Linked DNA regions of Homo sapiens: all the other regions are linked to region 2. Evidence: promoter capture Hi-C in 16 types of primary human blood cells and fetal thymus (Javierre and others, 2016). All regions are on one chromosome and are shown on one strand. The core of a region is centred on a gene start or on the middle of the fragment in contact, and the rest is flanking DNA. Distances in the headings are between cores, read along the strand shown.

What was found. The method cuts DNA at HindIII sites, captures the fragments that hold promoters and counts their contacts. A CHiCAGO score of 5 or more calls a contact.
Region 1: a contact is called between a fragment that was not itself captured here and the fragment with the promoter of TMEM44-AS1 in region 2, in 1 of 17 cell types (neutrophils). The highest score is 5.1, in neutrophils.
Region 3: a fragment that was not itself captured here is called in contact with the fragment with the promoter of TMEM44-AS1 in region 2 in 1 of 17 cell types (neutrophils); the score reaches 10.2 in neutrophils.
Region 4: a fragment that was not itself captured here is called in contact with the fragment with the promoter of TMEM44-AS1 in region 2 in 2 of 17 cell types (neutrophils and total CD8 T cells); the score reaches 9.1 in neutrophils.

Annotation. Positions count from the first base shown.
Region 1 is chr3:195,113,543-195,116,618 of GRCh38, forward strand. The region is part of intron 3 of XXYLT1 (xyloside xylosyltransferase 1); the gene reads right to left. Among named protein-coding and RNA genes, the nearest start is that of MIR3137, 19 kb to the right of the region's middle. The HindIII fragment of the contact is 354 bases long and covers 1,207-1,560 here.
Region 2 is chr3:194,582,317-194,585,517 of GRCh38, forward strand. It overlaps TMEM44-AS1 (TMEM44 antisense RNA 1), which reads left to right and starts at 1,952. Exons shown (of 3, transcript NR_047575.1): 1 at 1,952-2,132. RefSeq lists enhancers at 1,218-1,883, 1,919-1,968 and a silencer at 1,469-1,728. The HindIII fragment of the contact is 5,912 bases long and covers 54-3,201 here.
Region 3 is chr3:195,539,096-195,542,224 of GRCh38, forward strand. All of the region lies in intron 1 of PPP1R2 (protein phosphatase 1 regulatory inhibitor subunit 2), which reads right to left. Among named protein-coding and RNA genes, the nearest start is that of PPP1R2, 2.7 kb to the right of the region's middle. RefSeq lists an enhancer at 1,199-1,308. The HindIII fragment of the contact is 4,001 bases long and covers 1-3,129 here.
Region 4 is chr3:195,253,272-195,256,229 of GRCh38, forward strand. All of the region lies in intron 1 of XXYLT1 (xyloside xylosyltransferase 1), which reads right to left. Among named protein-coding and RNA genes, the nearest start is that of XXYLT1, 16 kb to the right of the region's middle. RefSeq lists an enhancer at 283-1,070 and a silencer at 2,828-2,958. The HindIII fragment of the contact is 1,087 bases long and covers 1,114-2,200 here.

The DNA of each region.
Region 1 (3,076 bases), core at 134-2,633, 530 kb after region 2:
CTGAACCCAGGCAGTGTGAACCCAGCACTCACGGTCTTTTTTGTTAGAATCCTTTTTCTCTTTAATCAGTTTTGGATTTCCCCTCTGTTTCATGAGCTTTTTGCTTTACTTTTTAGCCATTCATTCCACAAACACCTACTCGGAGCCAGGCCTGGGAATGCCGAGCTTGGCTGAGGGAGCCTGCACAGCACCCACAGGACCAGGCAAAGAGGCGGAAAGGGGTGTGGCCAGGAGAAAGGGTTGTGGCCAGGAGAAAAGGGTGGAAAGGAGCCCTGGGCATTCTGATAGTGCCAGAGGGTGCTCCTGAGGCCGGCGGGCAAAGAATGCTATGAAGAAGGGGTGTCTGAGTTGGCCATGAATGACAGAGAGGATTTCTCAAGGTAGAGATGGGTGAAGAGAAGTCCCTCCAGGTGGCAGGAACAGTGCAAGCAAAGATAAGCAGGTGAAAGCTTGGCACAGCATCTGGGAGCCATGAGTGCCCAATTTGGCTAGAGCGTACTGAGTCAGTGCCAGGTCACAAACGCCTTGAGTGCCAGACCCCTGGGTTGAAGATTCTGAATGCATTCCAAGATTCAATTAAGGAAGCAGGATGATCTGCCCATGATTTTGCCCACTTATGGTGGCAGCCAATCATCCTGCAACAACTGTGCCCCAGTCCACACGCTTCCAGGGAAAGCTGCATTGGGTGGCCCCCTTCTCGCTCCTCCACGTGAAGCCCTGAACTCAGCTGCCCAAATTTGTTTCTCCACAAAGTACAGCCACACCATTGCACCCAAAATGGAGGATCTGAGGGGCCAAGGAATGACTACTGCCTGGAGAGCCGGGAGACACGGAGCATCACCTTCCACCTGCGTTGAGCTTCTTTTCATTTCACTCCATGTACTAAATAAGCCATTTTGAGCACCTGCTCTGTGTACGGTCCTGTGCCTGGGTCCCATGAGACCCAAATCATTGTCATTTCTCTAGCACTTGAAACACATCTGTCCCCCTACACCCACAATCACATTATACAACCATGTCATCAACAAGTACATTTCTACTAAAAAGTTCCTGCTCATGACAGTGCTGGGAGGACATCTCTTTACACGTTTAATTACGAAGACCAGGACCAGACATGAAATCCTAATGACCCAAATGAACAGCACTTGATGTAGAAGGCAGCGCGGCTTTGCCCACATTCCCTGAACCTCTGTCAAGCTTGTGACAAGCTTTCGTCAATCAGACGAAACTAAGTGAAAAAGCAATCGCTTTTGGAGCACGCAGGAAGGTAGCAGTCTTACAGGCTTAGAAAACCAGGGAGGAGTGAAGCCGCTCAGTGGTCTCCCTGCCGGTGCAAGGAGGCTGCCACCTGCAGAAGGTGCTAACGCCAAGTGTGGGAAGACACCGGGGTCGGCCTGGGCGCAGTCACTCCTGGGTGGAGGCTGAGCTTGGGAGTGTGAATGCCGCAGGCCCCACCCGTTCCACTCGTCAAAATCGTACCTAGCTGAGGTTGCACAGTTGGCTCCTCCCAAACCTCCCGTTGATCCTCCTCCTATTGAGAGGTTGGAACGAGGGAAACTAAGCTTCCCAGATGCCCAAACGGCGAGAGCTCGGGACGTGAATCAGGTGCTGCGACTCGGGAACTAGTGTGCTCACATGAGACGTGCCCGGTGAGAATGTGGCTTCTGGCTGTCACTGCTGGTTAGACGGTCCCAGTCACCTTGAACCCAGGTCGTGCTGCCGCTTCCTGAGTACCAGAAAAGCAGGGCAGTGGTGGTGATTTCTGTCCAAACTCCATAATCCTCAGACCTCAACTTAGACTGTTCATCCTTCAGCCTCCTAGAGAGTCCAGGAATGGCTGTGGGCTGGCAACAGCTGCTTCTGAACTAGCCAGGAGTCCTTCAAAAGGCCCAGCCGGAAACCTGCCCCTTGAGCCCCTCCAACAATGTTGTAAGCACCTAATTCCAACAAGAAACTCCTTCTGCTTACACCACCTGGAGTGGTTTCTGCTTCCTACGCGATCCCTGGTTGATAAACCCTGCCTGGCAAACCGAGCACGCGTGAAGGCCTCAGGAGCCACAGTGGAAGTGGTTTGGAAAGCACAGCTATTTACAGGACGACTCCCTTCATCTGGTGCGGAGCAGTAACCCCCTCGTCTGGCTCCGGCAGCACACCGTGTGCGCTCTCACCTTTGAGCTGAGGTGTTCACGTCCGAGGTGGAGGAAGGAGGGCGGCAGGTGCAGGCCAGGACCGGACCTCGGTTATCTAGAGAGTAACTAACAGTGCTTTGTCAGAGGGCGAGAGGGTCTGATGGGGGCAGCTCTGTATGAAAACTGGAGGCGCTGAGGCTGTCCTCAGGCTCAGGAGACAAAGACCGAGGACAGGTGACAGGGACAGTGATAAGGAGCTGGGCCGCTCAGGAGATGGCAGGAAACTCAAGTCAGGCAGCTGAAGCATGCACTATTTGCCACAAACGGAGTCGGGCTATCTAAAACAGGTTGTTTACGTGGACTTGATGGGCCTATAAGACTCAGCGACAGGGAGAAGCAGCTGGATTGGGGTGTGTTGAGCTTTCCTGTCACCCAAGGCAGAGGGGCGCTGTGTTCTGGTAGGTGACATGCACTATGAGATCTCAAGAGCAAGAGAAAGAAGGCATGCCACCACGAGCGGTGGAATCTGCACCATGCTGGATCTACTGACACATCTAAAACATTCTCAACTGCAGCAACATTTCTGGGCAAGTAAGTTCTAAGCGTGTCTGTTTCCCCTCACAAATTCTAACCAGAATGCTTTAAGCCAATGCTTCTCCAATTTTAATGTTTCTGTGAATTATCTGGGGATCTCGTTAAAATGTAGATTCTGAGTCAGTAGGTCTGGGGTGGGGTCTGAGATTCTGTTTCTGGTCCATGAACTACACTTTGAGTAGTGAGACTTGAAGCTTCAGAAACATCAGTCAAGATCCAAACTATTTACAGGTGCACTGCCAAGTGCACATCAGCAAGAAGGGAGGGAACTTGGCCCAGGAAACACAAGAGAGAGACAGTAGAACCAATCCACAGGACAACTTATCAGCTCTCACCGGCTTGCAACTCTATTT
Region 2 (3,201 bases), core at 702-3,201:
TTCAGAGACTGGTCCTGGACCATCTGTAGCAGAATCACCTGAGGAGCCTGCTAAGCTTCCCAAGCCCTGCCCAGACCTAGGGAATCCTCCGGGTGGAGCCTAAGAGTCTACATTTGAGTATCAGGGCTTTAGGCTATACTGGCTAGCAGAAGGTAAGGCCCATGAAATGGCCCTTTTCATCCATGGCCATGCTGTCCTTGGGAAAGATGGTGGTGGCCGCCGTGTATGACGTCCCTTGTTCCAGCTGTGGGTTTAGAGAATCCCTCAGATTTCCTCTGGAGATTCCAGGTGCCAAGACACCTGTAGGAGGAAGGCCGGAAGGGAAAGGTCAAGTCCGGAGCAGAGGCGTGGACCGCGGCAGGCTGCTGTTGGAGCGTGCTGGGCTCAGAAGCCGGGTTCTAGCTAGGAAACTGCGGAGTGGCCAAGGAGTTCCTGGCGCGAGGCACGCCACACAACCCTCGGATGCGAAGACGGTGACCATCCATTTCTCAATACGCCAGTGGCCCTGCCGTGCTACTGAGCCTCGTCAGCCTGTATAATGGAAGCTGAAGATGATGCAGCTCAGGAAAAGCAAGTATGATCTTAAGAACCCTGTAGCTGGAAAGCATGTTCCAAATCAAACCTAATGGAGACAACTACTAGAAGGTATAAAAGTTTTTTTTTTTTTTGAGACAGAATTTTGCTCCTGTTGCCTAGGCTGGAGTGCAGTGGCGCGGTCTCAGCTCACTGCAGCCTCTGCCTCGCCGGTTCAAACGATTCTCCTGCCTCAGCCTCCCAAGTAGCTGAGACTACAGGCGCCCACCACCACGCCCGGCTACTTTTTGTATTTTTGGTAGGGACGGGGTTTCACCATGTTGGCCAGACTGATCTCAAACTCCTGACCTCAGATGATCCGCCCGCCTCACCCTCCCAAAGTGTTGGGATTACAGGCGTGAGCCACCGCGCCCAGCCCAAAAGATTTTAAAAAGGAGTCTCTTGGAGGCAAAGGGACAGAACATTATTGTTTTTCATCATAAACCTTTTGGTGCAATCTGATTTTCTTTTTTTAAACCATGTACTTGCACTATTTTTATCTCAAAAAAGGTTTTTAATGCATTTAAAAACAAAGAAAAGAATGGTTTATAATACACCGTTAGGCTTCTGGGAGGTCTGAAACACACTATGAACCGTAAAATAACCTTGTAATTATCTCCTTAAAAACCGAGTGGGGTGGGCCAGGCGTGGTGGCTCACGCCTGTAATCCCAGCACTTTGGGAGGCCGAGGCGGGCGGATCACGAGGTCAGGAGTTCGAGACCAGCCTGACCAACATGGTGAAACTCCGTCTCCACTAAAAATACAAAAATTAGCCGGGCGTCGTGGCGCGCCCCTGTAGTCCCAGCTATTCAGTCGCAGAAGAATCGCTTGAATTCGGCAGGCGGAGGCTGCAGTCAGCAGAGACCGCGCCACTGCATTCCAGCCTGGGCGACAGAGACTCCGTCTCAAATAAACAAACCAAAACTGAACTACGGAGACGCCCTCGACAGTTCTTTCCCGGCTGCGTCGCCGCTGGCTGAGGTCAGAAACGCCGGCCTTCGGCTGCGGCGGCGGCTGCGGCGGCGGGGCGGGGCCGCGGGACTCTCGCTCCTCGCGGGAGGCGGTGGCTGCGGAGTGCGCACGCGCGGAACCGCAATTCCGTTCTTCCCGGAAGTGCCCTGCTGGTGCTGGGAGTAGGGCGCAAGATGTCGGCGGATGCAGCTCCGAGGAGGTAGGCAGTGGGAGCCGGCGTTCAGTCCGGCCCGTGCCAACAGTGGTTCCTCTCTCCCCCGTAGTTCGAGGAGACCACGCGCTGCCCCTCTGGCACGATCGTGGATGAACCCCCTGGCAACTGAAATGGGAAAGGCAGCGCCCCCGACTCTGGGGACTGGACCGAAGTCCACGGTAGTGACAGCTGCCAGACCCTGAGGAGAGGACGAGAAGACCCGAGGCCTCTGCTACGAACACTGGCAGCCGATGGAAAATTCAGACGGATTTGGGACAGTATGCAGAGTTCTCCAAGCGACAGATTAACAGAGGCTCTTGAAGAATAACTGCGTAATCACGTGTTCTGCTCAAAAGAAGGCCTGAATGCCCAGTGCCTTATTTGGCTTTCAGGGTTGGTGAAAGAAAAAGCAAAGTAGATGCTTTCTAATGCTAAGTCATTTAATGTAGCACCATTCCTTGAACTTCTTTCATCTCTAAGGTCGTCCCTTTCACCTGATGATGACCTTTGGGCCATCGTACAGGCATGTGTAAACTTGGAGATCTTCCTCAACATTGCACCATATCTTGGGTTCATTCAAGGCAGAGTCTCCTTGCAAAAGCATTCTAAAACAATGTAAAGTCGAAGAGAGTAGAGCAATACCTCCATAGTTGGAAAATGTGGAGGAGGCCAATTAAGGGACAGAAAAAGAAGTGCAGAGAATCTTGGAATTGTTGCAAAATTATTCTGGAGATATTTCTAAGTCTCCTCTATCCTTTTCCTTAGTGATTAATACAGGTTTTTATATTAAGTGGACAGTAAAATCCAAACAGAAAGAGGTATATGTCGTATAATGAAGCCTATGTTCAAAGTATATCTGAAATTTGTTTTTATAATGTCTTTCTTGAGAGCTTATAAAGATGTCAGTATTCTGTGGGAAACAAATTGGCACATGCATAAAAGAGAAAAAATGAAAAAAATCAGGCCCAACTTTCAGTTTACAGATGAGGAAACTGTGACATAGAAAAGGAAATGACAAAGATCACACTGAATCAGACCTGGGAACTGGAGCCCAGCCATGCTCCTTGGCCCAGTGCCTCTTCTTATTCTAGGAGCTCATACCCCTTTGAAAGAAACATAATATGAATGTGTCTTCAAATGATGCTCATAAATCTCTTCATCATACTGAGGGAGGGAGATAAGGGGATTAGTTCTTCAGGATCTAGACAGGCTTTCAAGAAAATCTTTAGCTGGGTGCGGTGGCTCATTCGTGTAATCCCAGCGCTTTGGGAGGCTGAGGCAGGTGGATCACCTGAGGTCAGGAGTTCCAGATCAGGCTGGCCAACAGCGTCTCTACTAAAAATACAAAAATTAGCCAGGCATGGTGGCGGGAGCCTGTAATCCCAGCTACTCGGGAGGCTGAGGCAGGAGAATCGCTTGAACCTGGGAGGCGGAGGTTGCAGTGAAGTGAGATCGTGCCATT
Region 3 (3,129 bases), core at 254-2,753, 960 kb after region 2:
AATCATAGCTGGCAGTATTTTTTCTTCCTGGATAGTACATCTTAGAATCAACAGTGTCTTCTTTTCATTAAGATACACATATGTACTCACTAGGCCTGCTAAATTAGACCTTCATAAGTTGTGCCCTATATTCAAGGTATCCTGAAAGAATGGGAAGTCCACAATGATCGAAGATGACAGTGGTGTTTAAAACAGCTGAATGCTGTGGTGCAATGTACTGAGATTTATCTATACTTAGTTATGTGGATTTATGGATTCTATCCAGTTTTAATTTAACCCTCAAAAATTGGTATCTGACAAATGGTACCTGTAGAAACCACTCATTAAAGACATAAGTACTGGTGGGGCATGGTGGCTCTCACCTGTAATCCCAGCACTCTGGGAGGCAGGCAGATCACTTGAGCCCAGGAGTTTGAGACCAGCCTGAGCAATATACTAAAACCCCATCTCTACAAAAAATACAAAAATTAGCTGGGTGTGGTGGCCTGAGGTGGGACAATCATTTGAGAGCAGGAGATGGAGGCTGCAGTGCGCTGTGATCGTGCCACCGTACTCCAGCCCAGGTGGCAGAATGAGATCTTGTCTCAAAAATAAACAAAAAAAGACGTAAGCACTAATGCAAAGTATAAACAATAAGAAAATAACAGCACTGAGTCATCTAAAAAAATAAAACCCCCCTCAATGATGGTTTGATCGGTCCTGACAATTGGATAAAAAAATAGAAATGCTAGACTATCTGAATATGGCTTTATATAAACCTCACTTTAAGTGGACATTGAGTTTTGAGAATTATCTAATGATAGTAGTACATCCATATATGAATTACAGACATATATCTGAAGTATGTTTGAATTCTATTTTTAAAAATTCCTTGGTAATATTTACGTAAAATAACATCCTCTCACAACTGGGGGATGGGTAGGAGTCAAACTATCATCGCATTTTACACAACGAAGACACCTATAAAAGGTAGGGTTCATTCTCATTATTCTCTGATTCTTTCTTTGCAAGTTTACCTACTTGCTAAAATGTGTAATCCCAAAACTAGCATTTGAGGTCCGTTAGCAGTTGCTCACAGACAGCCACAGAGCAGGGCAGATTCTGAGTTGCCCAGTGCACCGTTCACAGCCGAGGTAGCATGTTCCCAGATGGGGTCAAACAAGGCGACGCTCTGCTTTCTTGTTTCAGCTCTTGTACTGTAAACAAGTGTCCTTTTCGTGGCCTATTTAGGGTCCTTTCCTGCATTTTTGTTGGTGAATCTGGTGTGTAAAATGGCTCCCAAGTGTAAAGGGCTATTTGGTATTGGCTGAATTTGTGGAGGGGGCCAACTGTATATTTATTGTTTCTGTTCAAAGAGGATCTCATAAAGTTTGCATGACTTGTGACAAATAATAATGTATATTTGGTATGGTTTGAACGTTTGTCCTCTCTGAAACTCACGTTGAAACTTGATCTCCAATGTGGCAGTGTGGAGAGGCACAGCTTTTAAAAGGTGACTGGGTCATGAGGGCTCTGCTCTGATGAATGGATTAATCTATTCACGGATTAATGGGTTATCAAGTGAGTGGTTCTGGTGGCTTTATAAGAAGAGGAAGAGAGACCTGAGCTGGCACGCTCAGCTTCCTTGCCATGTGATGCCCTGCACCACCTTGGAACTCCACAGAGTCCCCACCAGCAAAAACGCTCTCACCAGATGCACCCTTAAGACCCTGGACTTCCAAGCCTCCAGAACCGTAAGAAATAAATTCAGTTTCTTATAAATTATCATTTCAGACATTCTGTTATGACCAACAGAAAACAGACTAAGACTATATTGTATTACTAGTAGAATTAGTTTATTTGCTTTACAGTCACATAACAAGGATCATTAAAAAACCCATCCTTTTTACCACTTGGAACCAAACATCATGAACTTCAATGAATTAGGGTTTGATAGTTCTCTTTAAAGACAGGACTGTAACTCTAACTCGACAGGTCAGTCCCTTTTAAGTGAATCTACCCTGCCACAGATACTACAGAAGAGGCAGCCCTATGCAGTTGAGTCAGTCTAGTATAGTGGCTTTTGAGGCAGAAAGACCTGAATGTAAATCCCAACCAATTACAGAAAGAAAGAGGCCAATCCATAGATTGGGCCCACGGGAAATTACAGCAGATCCAAGTTAAGAATAAACAGAAACTAAAGAAGCAGAGATAAAGAGTAACTCACTTGGTAAATGGACCAAAAGAAACTCACACTGGAGAACAGCTAAATAACATAAATGCCAGTAAGGACCACATTCCTGCTGCTGAAAACCCTGAAGCTACATTTGAGCCTTCTGTAGTTACGTTACTTATCTTTTAATTCCTTTTCTTTTCTTTCCTTTTTTTTTTTTTTTTTTTTTTTAAGAGATGAGGTCTCATTATGTTGCCCAGGCTGGTCTCAAACTCCTGGGATCAAGCAATCCTCCCACCTTGGCCTCTCCAAGTGCTGAGATTACAGGCGTGAGCCACCACGCCTGGATGTTATTTATCTTTTAACTAACTTGGTTCTCCTGCTTCAGTTATGTTCTGGTGAAATTCTGTCTTCTTAATTCCATGACCTACACATCACACTCCCCCAGCACTCCATTTAACGTGGCTTAGCCCAAAGAAGTTGGAAAATTGTGTGTGAGAGAATGTAAGATTCAAGCATCCATGAGCGTGGGAGTTGCTAGACAAAAACTAAGGTCCTTTCCAGCCCCAAAAGGCCACGATTCTAACCTATGAACCTACTCAATATTTCCTTCAAGGTAACACAAATCCCTAAAATTTACCACCACCAAGCAGTAGTTCCTTTTATGGTCCTAAATAAGATCCTTTATCCAGGAATGCCCTAGGTTCCTATATTCTGAGATTTCACAAACATCCTCATTTTAGCTTCTGACTACCAATTTCAATGGTAACTTTTCTTAAGCCTTATTTTCAGAAAGTAGAGTCCTTCTATTTTTAGTATCTTGCAACGCCCAAGCCCCCGTGCACTTCTAACCCACTACAGATACTGTACTGCAACATTTTCTCCGTGCATAAACGCCTACCTTTCTTTTTTTAAAGGCTAGTATATTGTTCCATTATACAAACGTACCGTAATTAATATTTCACCAGCTCTTACTA
Region 4 (2,958 bases), core at 407-2,906, 670 kb after region 2:
AAATCAGGTCCAGATGCTGCACATGTCACAGAAAAAGGCTGAGAAGTCAACAGCTCCAGAAATCAGGAGGCGAAGCGGCAAGATCCCGTTTCATTTCCCAAGGCCCCTGCTTAAGACACAGCCTTAAGCAAAAGACACGTTTTCATTTTGCATTTGCCTTAAAATGTCTCCCAACTCTCTGAGAGCCACATCAGTTCTAAAATCTTCAACTGCTCACATTTCTTTTTTTTTCTTTTTTTTTTTTTTTTTTGAGAAGGAGTTTTGTCTCCCAGGCTGGAGTGCAGTGTTGTGATTTTGGTTCACTGCAACCTCCGCCTCCTGGGTTCAGGCAATTCTCCTGCCTCAGCCTCTCGAGCAGCTGGGACTACAGGTGCCCACCACCACGCCTGGCCAATTTTTGTATTTTTAGTAGAGACGGGGTTTCACTATGTTGGCCAGGCTGGTCTCGAACTCCTGACCTCAGGTGATCCGCCCGCCTCGGCCTCCCAAAGTTCTAGGATTACAGGCGTGAGCCACCGCGCCCGGCCTGTTCACATTTCTGATCAAAGCGAAAGCCACTCAGTCACTCAGTGAGCCCAAAGAAGAGACCAGTAAGCAGGGCCAGCCTACCTGGCAGTTTACATCCTCTGCAAACGCTGCTCAGCAAATTCAACTATGTAGCCAATCACTCTTCCCTCAAGTGAGTTTTAAAGGGTAACACCAGAGGGAAACGGTGCTCTCGGACAAGTCACGGGGGTGCCCACTGCCCAGCTGTGCACCAGGGGGCACCCCCACTGGGGTGGGGAGATTTCCCTCTCACATTTCCAGGCTGGAACAAGTCCCCCAAAGACCCCCATAAATCAGGCCCCAGGGGGCCCTCAGCGCTTGGAGACTCTGGCCACAGACGTCAGCAGTGACTGCCCAGGCCTGGCAGGTTCTCCAGGGCCTCAGCCCCAGGGCCTGGGACCAAAGCCCCACCCTGCACTGACCACAGGTTAAATTTGCCCTGAAACTGGGGTCAGCAGCAGAAACAACACGCCCCTCACCCTCCCAACCACAGGACGCAGGCTCGAAGCCTGACGAGGTGATTTTCAAAGTACCATCTGCTCCTGGGAAGCCATTCCCTGAGCCGGAAGCTTGTTCCTTTTCCCCTGTGAGGAAACTGGGGGCCACATGGCATCACACAGAGCCCTCTGCAGGCTCAGTCACCCTCTCACTCTTGCTCAGCACGTCCACGGGGCATAATTAAGTCTGTAGGCTGCGGGATCTCTGTGCCAAAACTGCTCTTTTGTTTCCCAAGGTGAAGCATCTGGAACCTGGGCATCCAGGCAACAGGCTCGCAAGGCCCAGATTCAGGGGCAGCCACCTGCGCCAGGCTGGGACCTGACACAGGGTGAGCAGGTGAGCCACTGAGCAGGACCATGAGGTGGCATGCTAAAGCTGGGCACAGCCACCAAGGGTGGGACACAGACCTGCAGGGCCTTCACGGGGCCAGGGCAGTGCCTAAGGGTCCACCTAGCACGCGTCAAGCACAAACAGCTGCGCTGTGCACATTCAGTCACTTAACGTCGCCCTCACACCAATGTTTTGGGGCAGGTGATAGGACTGGGCCCCTGCTACAGAGAGGAGGTGGTTCAGAGAATGTAAACAACTACCCCCCACCTCCCAGAAAGATGAGGTAGAGCCAGGATCTAAAGCGGCCCATCTGTAGCCAACACCATACTCATTCAAGAGACACACGCCCATTCCCACACCCGCTGCACAGGAAAGAGAAAGAAGTCAGACTCGGACCCTGTCCCCAACTGCCCCAGGCTGGGAAATTCACCAGCACTGCGGACAGAGCAGGGGATAACAGCAGCATCAGAAAGACCCATAAGGCCATAGGTTTGCAGAGGGAATGCAGTCCCTCAGCAAGGAGCTTCAGTCGGACTAAACCAGCAGAAAAGGCGGTTTCCGAGTACCATGCTCGCACAACAGGGAGCCGCCGACCAGGCCTGGAGATCCCTGTGACAGTCACGGCAGGACTGGGGCTGCAGGAGTGCAGAGCCAGGTGGGAGACAGCAGCGGGGTTCCCTACCCCACACGGCTCGCACCCACGAGCTCAGCCCCCAGCAGGACCCAGTCGGGCTGGGGACTCAGCTCCATCCAAGTGGGCTGAGCAGGGCCAGGCAATGGGTTGGAGGGAGCCATGACTCTGGGCCTGCAGCTGAGGAGGCTGCAAAGCTTCCTTCTGGAGCAGCCGATCAGTGGACGTGGAGCAAAGCCTTTCATTGTCCACAAAACACAGACGACTGCAGGGAGTCACAAGTGGGTGAGATCCAAAAGCTGTGTCAGGCTAGAAACCAAAACAGAAGACAAACCGGCGCACAGAGCAAGCACAGCGTAGAACTGGCTTCCGAACACAAGGGAAGGCAGGCAGGGAGACCATGAGTGCAGGGAACCAGAGAGGGCACAGGAGAGCTGCTCCCAGTCTCCCTTGTCCACTGAGCAGCTGTGTGGCCCTGAGCAAGTTGCTTGGCCTCTCTGGGCCCCCGTTTTCTCATGGATAACATGAATAGACTCAACTCCAGGACCAGAGTCTGGACTCCCTCCAACCCAGACCTCTTCTGCAGCTAAATGAGGGAGGTGGGGCTCCAACATCTCAGCCTGTAAATCCCACCTCCTAGAAAGAGGCTCCCTGCTGTTCTATGGGCAGCTCCTGGAGGAGGGAGGGAAGGTCCACCCCGGGCAGCCCTGGGATTCCCCTGTTCTGTGCCACCCAGCTGACCAGGGGAAGAGGCCACCCAGCCAGCAGCAGGCACAGGGGCACCGTGGGAACCCTTCTGGTGGGGCCCCAGCTCTCACAGAGCATTCCTGGCTTTGGAGGGACAAGAACAAACCGCCAAAATCAACAGGCATCGGGCAGAGTGCTGAAGAATCAGCAAGCCGGACTCCAATCATGGCTCCGAGCAAGCTCATCTGTGCAGCCTCTTCCTAGGG